Linked DNA regions of Homo sapiens: region 1 is linked to region 2. The links are contacts of gene promoters, found by promoter capture Hi-C in human tissues and cell types (Jung and others, 2019). All regions are on one chromosome and are shown on one strand. Each heading gives the region's core, a stretch centred on a gene start or on the middle of the fragment in contact. The rest is flanking DNA. Distances are from core to core; before and after follow the strand shown. Region 1 overlaps TLK2 (tousled like kinase 2). Region 2 holds the start of PSMC5 (proteasome 26S subunit, ATPase 5).

Evidence for each region. The method cuts DNA at HindIII sites, captures the fragments that hold promoters and counts their contacts. A contact is called where the count stands out against the background at its distance.
Region 1: a fragment that was not itself captured here is called in contact with the fragment with the promoter of PSMC5 in region 2 in 1 of the 25 tissues and cell types used here (spleen).

Annotation. Positions count from the first base shown.
Region 1 is chr17:62,585,053-62,589,090 of GRCh38, forward strand. It overlaps TLK2 (tousled like kinase 2), which reads left to right. Exons shown (of 22, transcript NM_006852.6): 16 at 1,083-1,174. Among named protein-coding and RNA genes, the nearest start is that of MRC2, 41 kb to the right of the region's middle. The HindIII fragment of the contact is 4,499 bases long and covers 309-4,038 here.
Region 2 is chr17:63,824,647-63,828,776 of GRCh38, forward strand. It overlaps PSMC5 (proteasome 26S subunit, ATPase 5), which reads left to right and starts at 2,785. Exons shown (of 12, transcript NM_002805.6): 1 at 2,785-2,868; 2 at 3,492-3,563. The coding sequence starts at 2,845. FTSJ3 (FtsJ RNA 2'-O-methyltransferase 3) reads right to left here and starts at 3,017. Exons shown (of 21, transcript NM_017647.4): 1 at 2,406-3,017; 2 at 2,190-2,282; 3 at 1,921-2,026; 4 at 1,612-1,658; 5 at 1,410-1,489; 6 at 890-989; 7 at 596-790; 8 at 402-517; 9 at 179-283; 10 at 1-91. The coding sequence starts at 2,256. RefSeq lists enhancers at 2,130-3,329, 2,466-2,745, 3,126-3,175. The HindIII fragment of the contact is 12,724 bases long and covers 1-4,130 here.

The DNA.
Region 1 (4,038 bases), core at 1,308-3,807, 1.2 Mb before region 2:
TACTTTATCAAATTATGATTTACACCCAGCTTCCTCAAAAATCCATGTTACCTTTTTCACTGTGCTATAGCAAGCACTACATAGCTGATGCAGGACTTGCTGGCAGTGGTGGCCATTGGGGAAAGCTGGTTCCTGCCTCTGGACAGTGCTGGAGAAGTGACTTGGGGTGACTAACTTCAGCCATTTTTGGGATTAGAAACTGCTTTTCGGCCAGGCGCAGTGGCTCACGCCTGTAATCCCAGCACTTTGGGAGGCCGAAGCGGGGCGGATCGCCTGAGGTCAGGAGACCAGCCTGACCAACATGGTGAAACCCCATCTCTACTAAAAATACAAAAATTAGCCGGGCGTGATGGTGCGTGCCTGTAATCCCAGCTACTCAGGAAGCTGAGGCAGGAGAATCACTTGAACCCGAGAGACAGAGGTTGCAGTGAGCCAAGATTGCACCGTTGCACTCCAGCCTGGGCGACAGAGCGAGACTCCGTCTCAAAAACAACAACAACAAAACCACTTTTCATTTACCCAGCATATAGAGATGGGACTAAAGGCAGGGCTGTTTTTTGTTCTTGTTTCTCTTTTTATTTTAATAAACAATATGCCAAATTACAGGGTGGTTTTGTAAACAATCATACCAAAGAAGTATATTGTGAGGGGTTATTTTCTCCAGGAGGCAGGCAGTGTGTGTCCCTGGAATTTCAAAAGTGACAGGATGTTTGAAGCTTGTAAAGTCCCAGTGTCAACTGAAGGATAAGAGACAACCTAAGGCAGACGGGTCCCAGACAGGAATAGATGGTGTCCAGAAAGAGAATGGTTGGGAAATGATTCTGAAGGCAGGGGCTATCTTTCTGTTTGTGGTGTTGGCCTGGTTTTATGTTCTAAATCCCTTGGTGCCAGTGTGTCTGGAGACTTCTAAATTATCTAATCACAAGTTTCAAGAAGGTGCTTGCAACACTGATATAAGTATGTGATGTATTTAATAATGTATTTTGGACTTTGATTATGTTATATGTTAAATTAAAGCTTCACATCAGTTACCTGTAATTTTTCTTAACATTTACCCAGTATATAATTTATTCTCTTTATAGGCATTTGATCTAACAGAGCAAAGATACGTAGCTGTGAAAATTCACCAGTTAAATAAAAACTGGAGAGATGAGAAAAAGGAGAATTACCACAAGTAAGTGATACTTGAGTGTCTGACTTTTTAAAATTAAATAATACCTGTAGTTTGAGCATTATGCTACAAGCTTTACGTGCATTGTTGTTGGTTTTGTTTTATGTAATCTTCATAACTGCCCTGAGAGAATAAATACATTCTCAGTGTTACGACGAGGAAACTGATGCTTACAGAATTGGAGTAACAGGAAGTGGCTGAGCTGGTATTTAAATCCAGACTTTCCTGAATCCAAAGCCCTAGGTACTCTTAACCTTCCCTTCCTTTGTGGCTAGAAATAGCTATAGTAAATAAAGCCTTAGAAATCATTTTTGCTGGCCGGGCACGGTGGCTCACACCTGTAATCCCAGCACTTTGGGAGGCTGAGGCAGGCAGATCACGAAGTCAGGAGATCGAGACCATCCTGGCTAACACGGTGAAACCCCGTCTCTACTAAAAATACAAAAAATTAGTTGGGCGTGGTGGCAGGCATCTGTAGTCCCAGCTACTCGGGAGGCTGAGGTAGGAGAATGGCGTGAACTCGGGAGGCAGAGCTTGCAGTGAGCCGAGATCACGTCACTGCACTCCAGCCTGGGTGATGGTGCGAGTGCGAGACTGCATCTCAAAAAAAAAAAAAATTGTTGCTTGTCTATAGAAACTAGACCCTAGGGAGCTGCTGGTGGGCTGTTTCTGCTACTTCAGTCATTTCCTTCTAGAAGAGACTGGGGGCACCTGGTGTGTCTTGGTGGCACCTGTTTGACTTGTTCAGCCTCTCTGTGCTATGTTCTCCTCCCGGTCACAGTTTGCCCATCTCAAAGTTCTTGGTCTTCAGGGTCCCACTTCTGTGCTTGCTTCTCTATAGAATAGTACTAGTGGCAGCCTTCATCTGTACTTGGGATGTGGGGTAGAGAGGGGGGGCTTCTTTAAAATGAATTGTTACAATATGCACAGCTGTGAATTGCTTTGTTCCACTGATGTCAGGTTTTGCCTATATCTCCCCAAGCTTCTGAACGTTGGAGTTCATGGCTCATTTGCTTTAGAGGCTATGCAGACTTAATTTGCTATTAGGTTCCCCACTGGGCTTAGTTTTGTTTCCTTGTTGTTGGTACAAGTATTGAATCAGACAAGTCCTGCCCTTGAAAGGAGGGGACAGGCTTTTTTGACAAAGCAAACACCTCCTTTCTATAAAGGCAGTCTTGGTTTTTTTTGGTGTTTTGTTTGTTTGTTTGTTTGTTTTATAAATAATAATTTGGAAGGGGAAAAACAGTGGTCTTTGAAGTAGCCCTTTAGTTGGCTTCTAGCCTGGTCCAAGGCAACTCTTGCTCTATACCTCTTGTTCATCAGGGACCCAGAAGTTCTTCCTGTTCCAGACAGATGGGCAGTGGTGCTCAGCACTGGAGAAGGGAAGGTTCCTGCTACATTAAGAGCAACAGGGCTTAGCAGAGGGAGAAGGGATGACCTGTGGCACCCTGCGTGTGTTTCTTAGGTGACAGGCAGCTGCAGTCCAGATGCTCCTGAGGAGCAGTTACATTATTATAAGAACATTCCAGTCACTTGATATGTAGGGATGAGTGGCACACCGTAGTGAGTGCCAGGAGCACTTCAGAGAAGGAAAGCACATGTTGTTCTGACCAGTTATAAGTGAGCAATGCCACTACTGTATTGAGACCCTAAGAATGCCTAAGGGTGTTGGACCAGTACATGCTTCTCTTTAAAAATGCCCTGTAGGGCATTTTTATACATATACAGATGTATATGTATAAAATATACGTATACATCTGTATATGTATAAAATATACGTATACATCTGTATATGTATAAAATATACGTATACATCTGTATATGTATAAAATATACGTATACATCTGTATATGTATAAAATATACGTATACATCTGTATATGTATAAAATATACGTATACATCTGTATATGTATAAAATATACGTATACATCTATACATATACATATTTTTATACATATACGTCTCCTGTGCTGAGACGTATATGTATTTTGCCTAGTCTCAGTATCCAGGTTTCTGGCTGACCTTGCAGAGAGCTCTAGTGTTGGATACCACAGCAACTGCAGGTGGGCGTTCTGCCCATCTAGCCTTTTGAAACACTGAGGAGTGGAAGCCGGGCCTTGTCCCTCCTTCAAACAGTTGGCAAGCACTCTGAGGCCTGGTGGGTATGGATTGGGTGTTTTCTCACATATGTCTCTACCAGACAGAATCAGAGAGCACGTGAAGGGGATGGTCCTATTTGTCTAAGTTCTTTCCATTCAAGTTCCAGGCTGGCATTGGTGCCTTTCTACTCTGTTTCCTCATCAGAGGAGGGATCATGGTGCCTGAGCTCATCTGAGGAGGGGGCATTTCCTATTTGGCAGACACCTTGGGGAGAGGGTGTGTGAGTTGTTGTGACCTTCATTCTTGCTTGGGCAGCTGGGGGGAGTTCTTTTTTTTGTTTTGTTTTGTTTTCCAATCAGGAAGCAGCACTGAGGAGACAATTCTTAAGTACCTCCACCTTTCTTTTGAAAGAATTGGCTTTCTAAGTGATATAAAATCATACTCATGCATTTCAGGCTATAGAAAATGGCGAATTGACAAAATGTCATTAACTGCTTTGAACTAAAAGGAGACTTACATCAAGCACATAACGGACATTGATGAGTGCTTTAAAAATTCAGTATTAAACTAAAAAGTAGTACACTTCAGTGTTGTGACATTATAAAATATGAAAATGCTATAACCCTGCTAGTAAGGTCTGTTAATTGCGTTTCCATTCATGGGGATGACTTCCCAGTCCCATCTGGAATCAAGACATTTATTCTGGTAAAAAAGAAGGCAGATTTCAAAAGAAAATAAAAGGTGTTTGTTTTGTTGTATTTTGAAT
Region 2 (4,130 bases), core at 1,535-4,034:
TGCGCCCCAACACTCTGATGTCCTGACAGCACACCCGTATGTCCTCAGTGGTAGCTGGATGCTGTGCCAACTCTTCATCATCTACCATGATCTGTTTGGGAGGATGGAAAGGTGTCAGGGGAGATCCTCAGGCCATGTTTCTGGGGCTACCTCATGTCCCTCAAGGCTGGAGACTCACTTCGCTGGCCTTGGAGAGGAAGTCAACAGGGTTGGCAGCTCGGAGGAAGTCAGTGACTGAGGTACGGTGATAGAGAGTGAGGTCACCCTCAGCATAGCCTTCAGCCTTAGGAAGGAAAAGAGAGAAGCTTGGTCAGGCCCTTCTAAGGTACCTGTAGGACCCACCAGGCCCAACCTCCCTAGAGTTCCAGGACCCAAGAGTGACCCCATTCCCCAAAACACACCTTTGGCTTCTTCTTAGTAACCAATTCAGTAACGGTCTTAGCCTGAACTTCAACCTCCTTAAAGGCAAATTTGGGGTCAAAGAATTTACTGTCAACCTTGTCAGGGGCCAGGAATCCTAAAAATGACAGGATATATTAAAAAGTGTGCTTTGGGAGTTGGGAGCCTGGATCAAGAGAAAGGAAATGATGCCCACCTTGGCAGACTACAAAGATCTCTGCAGATTCATGGCGAGAGGCTTGGGGCTTGGTGGCCTGGACACGGCGGAACAGCTGCTGAAAGATCCATAGCAGAGGCTGATAGTCACGAGAACGGAAAACCTTTGTGATGAAGCTGCCACCACGGGCCAAAAAGTCACAAGCCAAACGTAGAGCCATCAGTGTCAAATGGGCTGTAGGATAGAGACAATTAGTTGACGCACTCTGCAGCCCAGGAGGGCATGCGCCCACCTCCACCATCACCTGATCTCCAAGCACCACACTCCCTGTACCTTGTGAGTAAGCATCATGGACCCAGCTAGCCCCAACGTTGGGGGCCCCATCATTGAGCACAACATCAACCTTCCAGGTCTTCAGCTCCTTCCTCAGGGCCTAAAGAGAAGAAAAGGAACTATGGAAACAGAAACACTGGAATGGCCCTGGTTCAGCCATTTGTCCATCTAGTCATTTGCTGAGTGCCCATCATGGGCCAAATGCAGTACCAGGCACAGGAGATACAATAGTAAACAAAAACAGTATGTCTCTACCTTCATGGAGATTACAGTCTGACACTGAATTCACAGGAGAAGACTTCACTAAAGATCTCTGCCCTTCTCCCAATTCCAAACACCTTTATCCCTGACTCTAAATAAAGCCTGGAGTGGACACTACGAATGCCATAGGTCTTGTCGTACAGATGTCAGGCAAGAACGTGCTCAAAGCACGGTAAAAAGGAAAAACTTGCCTTTAGAGGATTTCAGGGATGTAGATGTTTCCGTATAAAGGGGGAAGGAAGAGAGAGACTCCTATTACCTGCCTACAACGTTCTGTTGTGATGTCCTGCTGGAGAGTCACCACATTGGGGAGAGGCTTGATTGGAACCAGGTCCACTCCTGGAAGAAATCAGGTCAGAGTATTCTAAAAGGTTGCTTCAAGCAGGGAGGAGAGAAATACAGGACAAAATACCTTATACACCCACCCCTTAAAACACCAAGGAGAGCTGTCCGTTACTCACCCACAATAAGGCTGGATACAGGCATAAACTTGGCAGCTACCTGCAGCCTATAAAAGGAACAGAAATTTAAAAACCTAGAGCCATCCTTTTCCCCCTCTTGGCAACTGATCTCTCATCCCTGGTGTTACGTGTACTGGCCAAAGCATATCATAGGCACGTATTCCAAGCCCTTTCTCTGCAATCAAGAAAGGAAACGGCCCCCAAGAGGACCGGGATTCGGGTTCCCCTCCCGCAGTGAAACTGGAAGCCATCCCAGCTCAGAACCCAGAAAGCGGCCACCAGGAGCAACCTGTGGCGAGTGTTACGAACCATCCCCCTGGCGCAGCACACAGGTCCAGCAAGGCTCGGGCTTTCTGCAGGAACTGAAAGCGGCGATTGAGCTGGATCAGCTTGAAAGCAGATCGGGAACGGTAACCTGGACAAAACAACCAAGTGCGCAAACTGCTTCACTAGTAGGATTTCTCCGGCCTCGCAACCGACCACCCCTTCTGCAGGAGAGGTACATAATGGTCGCAAAGAGCAGGCGAACCGGGCAGAGATCGCTCGCTCGCTCGCAGACTGAGCGAATCCGGACTCACCCGTCTCCTTCGCCAAGTGATAAAACTTGTCTCGTCGGCTCTTGCCAACTTTGCCCTTCTTGCCCATGGTGGAAAGGGGGAGTATCCCTCAATCTGGGGAGAAAGTAGAAGTTGGGAACGTCTCTTTCCGGAGCACCAGATTCCACTTCCAGTTTCCCACTTCCAGTTTCCCACTTCCCGCAGCAATTCCACCCCGCGCCCCTCTCCGCACACTACCTAGACCCAGAGCCGCTTTCTCCACACTTGGAACCGCACAAGTATGCAGCTAACTACTTCCGCTTCCGCTTGCGTCCCCTGCGTCCCTGGCTCGAGGTTTTCCGCCATTTTGAGTGTGGCCCTAGATTGTTCTCAATACTCTGTCCTTGGGTTTTGTAAGTTGAAAGTTGAGACTAGGAAGGCATATCACAAGAACTATAAACAGAGTTTCAATGAGGCAACACTGAGGAGGAGTTCTACTCCTTCCTCATCCCCTTCCAAAGCCCCTGAACTCGAGTAGCCGCCCCTCCCATCATGGTTCCCTTAGTGTGGTCTCGCCGCACACCCCGCCCATTGACCCGGAATTCTTCTCTGCCTGGTCTTCAGGTCCCAATCCTCCGCTTCCGCGCTTGCGCGCCAAGACGGCTCGGATGCCGGCGGTCTCTGCTGAAGAGAGAAGATGGCGCTTGACGGACCAGAGCAGGTATGGCGGGTGCAGTGGCGGCCCGGCAGGTTACGGGGCTGGGTGCGGAGCGAGCGTGATCTGAGTGGAGAGCGGGCCGGGGCAGGAGCGTCGGGTGGGTCGGAGGTGCCTGGACCAGTCCATGCTGGACGCTGCCTGCGACCGGATCTGCTGTGTCAGCGCCGCCCTCGGTGAGTCAGGGCAAGGCTGGGAGAGGAAGACGCGGTAGAAGCGGAGTGAGTGAGGGAAGCGATGGGCGCGGGAATGGCCGGCCCACGGGTCGCAGGAGACGGGACGCCAGTCCTTTGGCTCCGTTCCGCTGGCTCCTTCGTCAGTACTGACACCTCGGGCTTGTAGAGCACTTCACGCAGTGCAAAGCGCCCCCCGTCTATATCATATCGCCTCTCGGTCCTCCTAAAAGTCGTATGAGGTAGGCGGCGTTCCCATTCTTTTATTTTAGTCCTGGGAAAATGGAGGGTTCCAAGGGAGGGAGGGATTAGAACCCAGATCCTGAGCCTCCGAAGTCCAAACTTTTTCTACTACGCAAAGCTACCTGGTGTCAAGCCTTATTCAAAGTGCCCTGCAAGTGGCTTTACCCCCTCGGATGTTTAACCTGTCGTTTAAGACTCACTCTGTGTCTTCAGATGGAGCTGGAGGAGGGGAAGGCAGGCAGCGGACTCCGCCAATATTATCTGTCCAAGATTGAAGAACTCCAGGTGAGGACGGACTCCAGAGGGAGCTAGGAAGGGTGATGATGGGGGATGGAAACGGACTTCCACAAATCCATCTAATTCCTTTGGGAGTGCAGTGGAAGAAGCTGCTGCTTCTCCTTTCTTGTTTGTTTCTTAGCTAGTAGGGTGTATGTATCAGAAGTAAGCAATCTCTTGTTCTCCTCCAGTCCCATCTCTTTGAGGGTCTTAGTGTTCACAGTTTGTTACACATCTTCGAGTCAAATCTTAATAGTAAAGGTACCTCTAGCCAAAGGTCAACCCTTTTGGAAGAAGCCCGAATGAAAAGGATTCTTATAAAAGGGAAACATAAGCTCAGGAGTTGAAATTTATCACCAAGAGGTTGGGTGAGGGTGAAGTGAGAATGTGAGGAAGGGCATCATTGAGGGATCTGGACAATGCTAATTCCATAGAGACTGAATGAAAGAAATTGGGCAACCCAGAGCCCTAGCCTAAAGCGCTAAACCATAGAAAAAGGACCGTTTATGTTGTTAATCAAATGTTTGTGTTACCAGTAAGGCTTCCAGCAGTAAGGTATGGCTTCCAGTAGTAAGC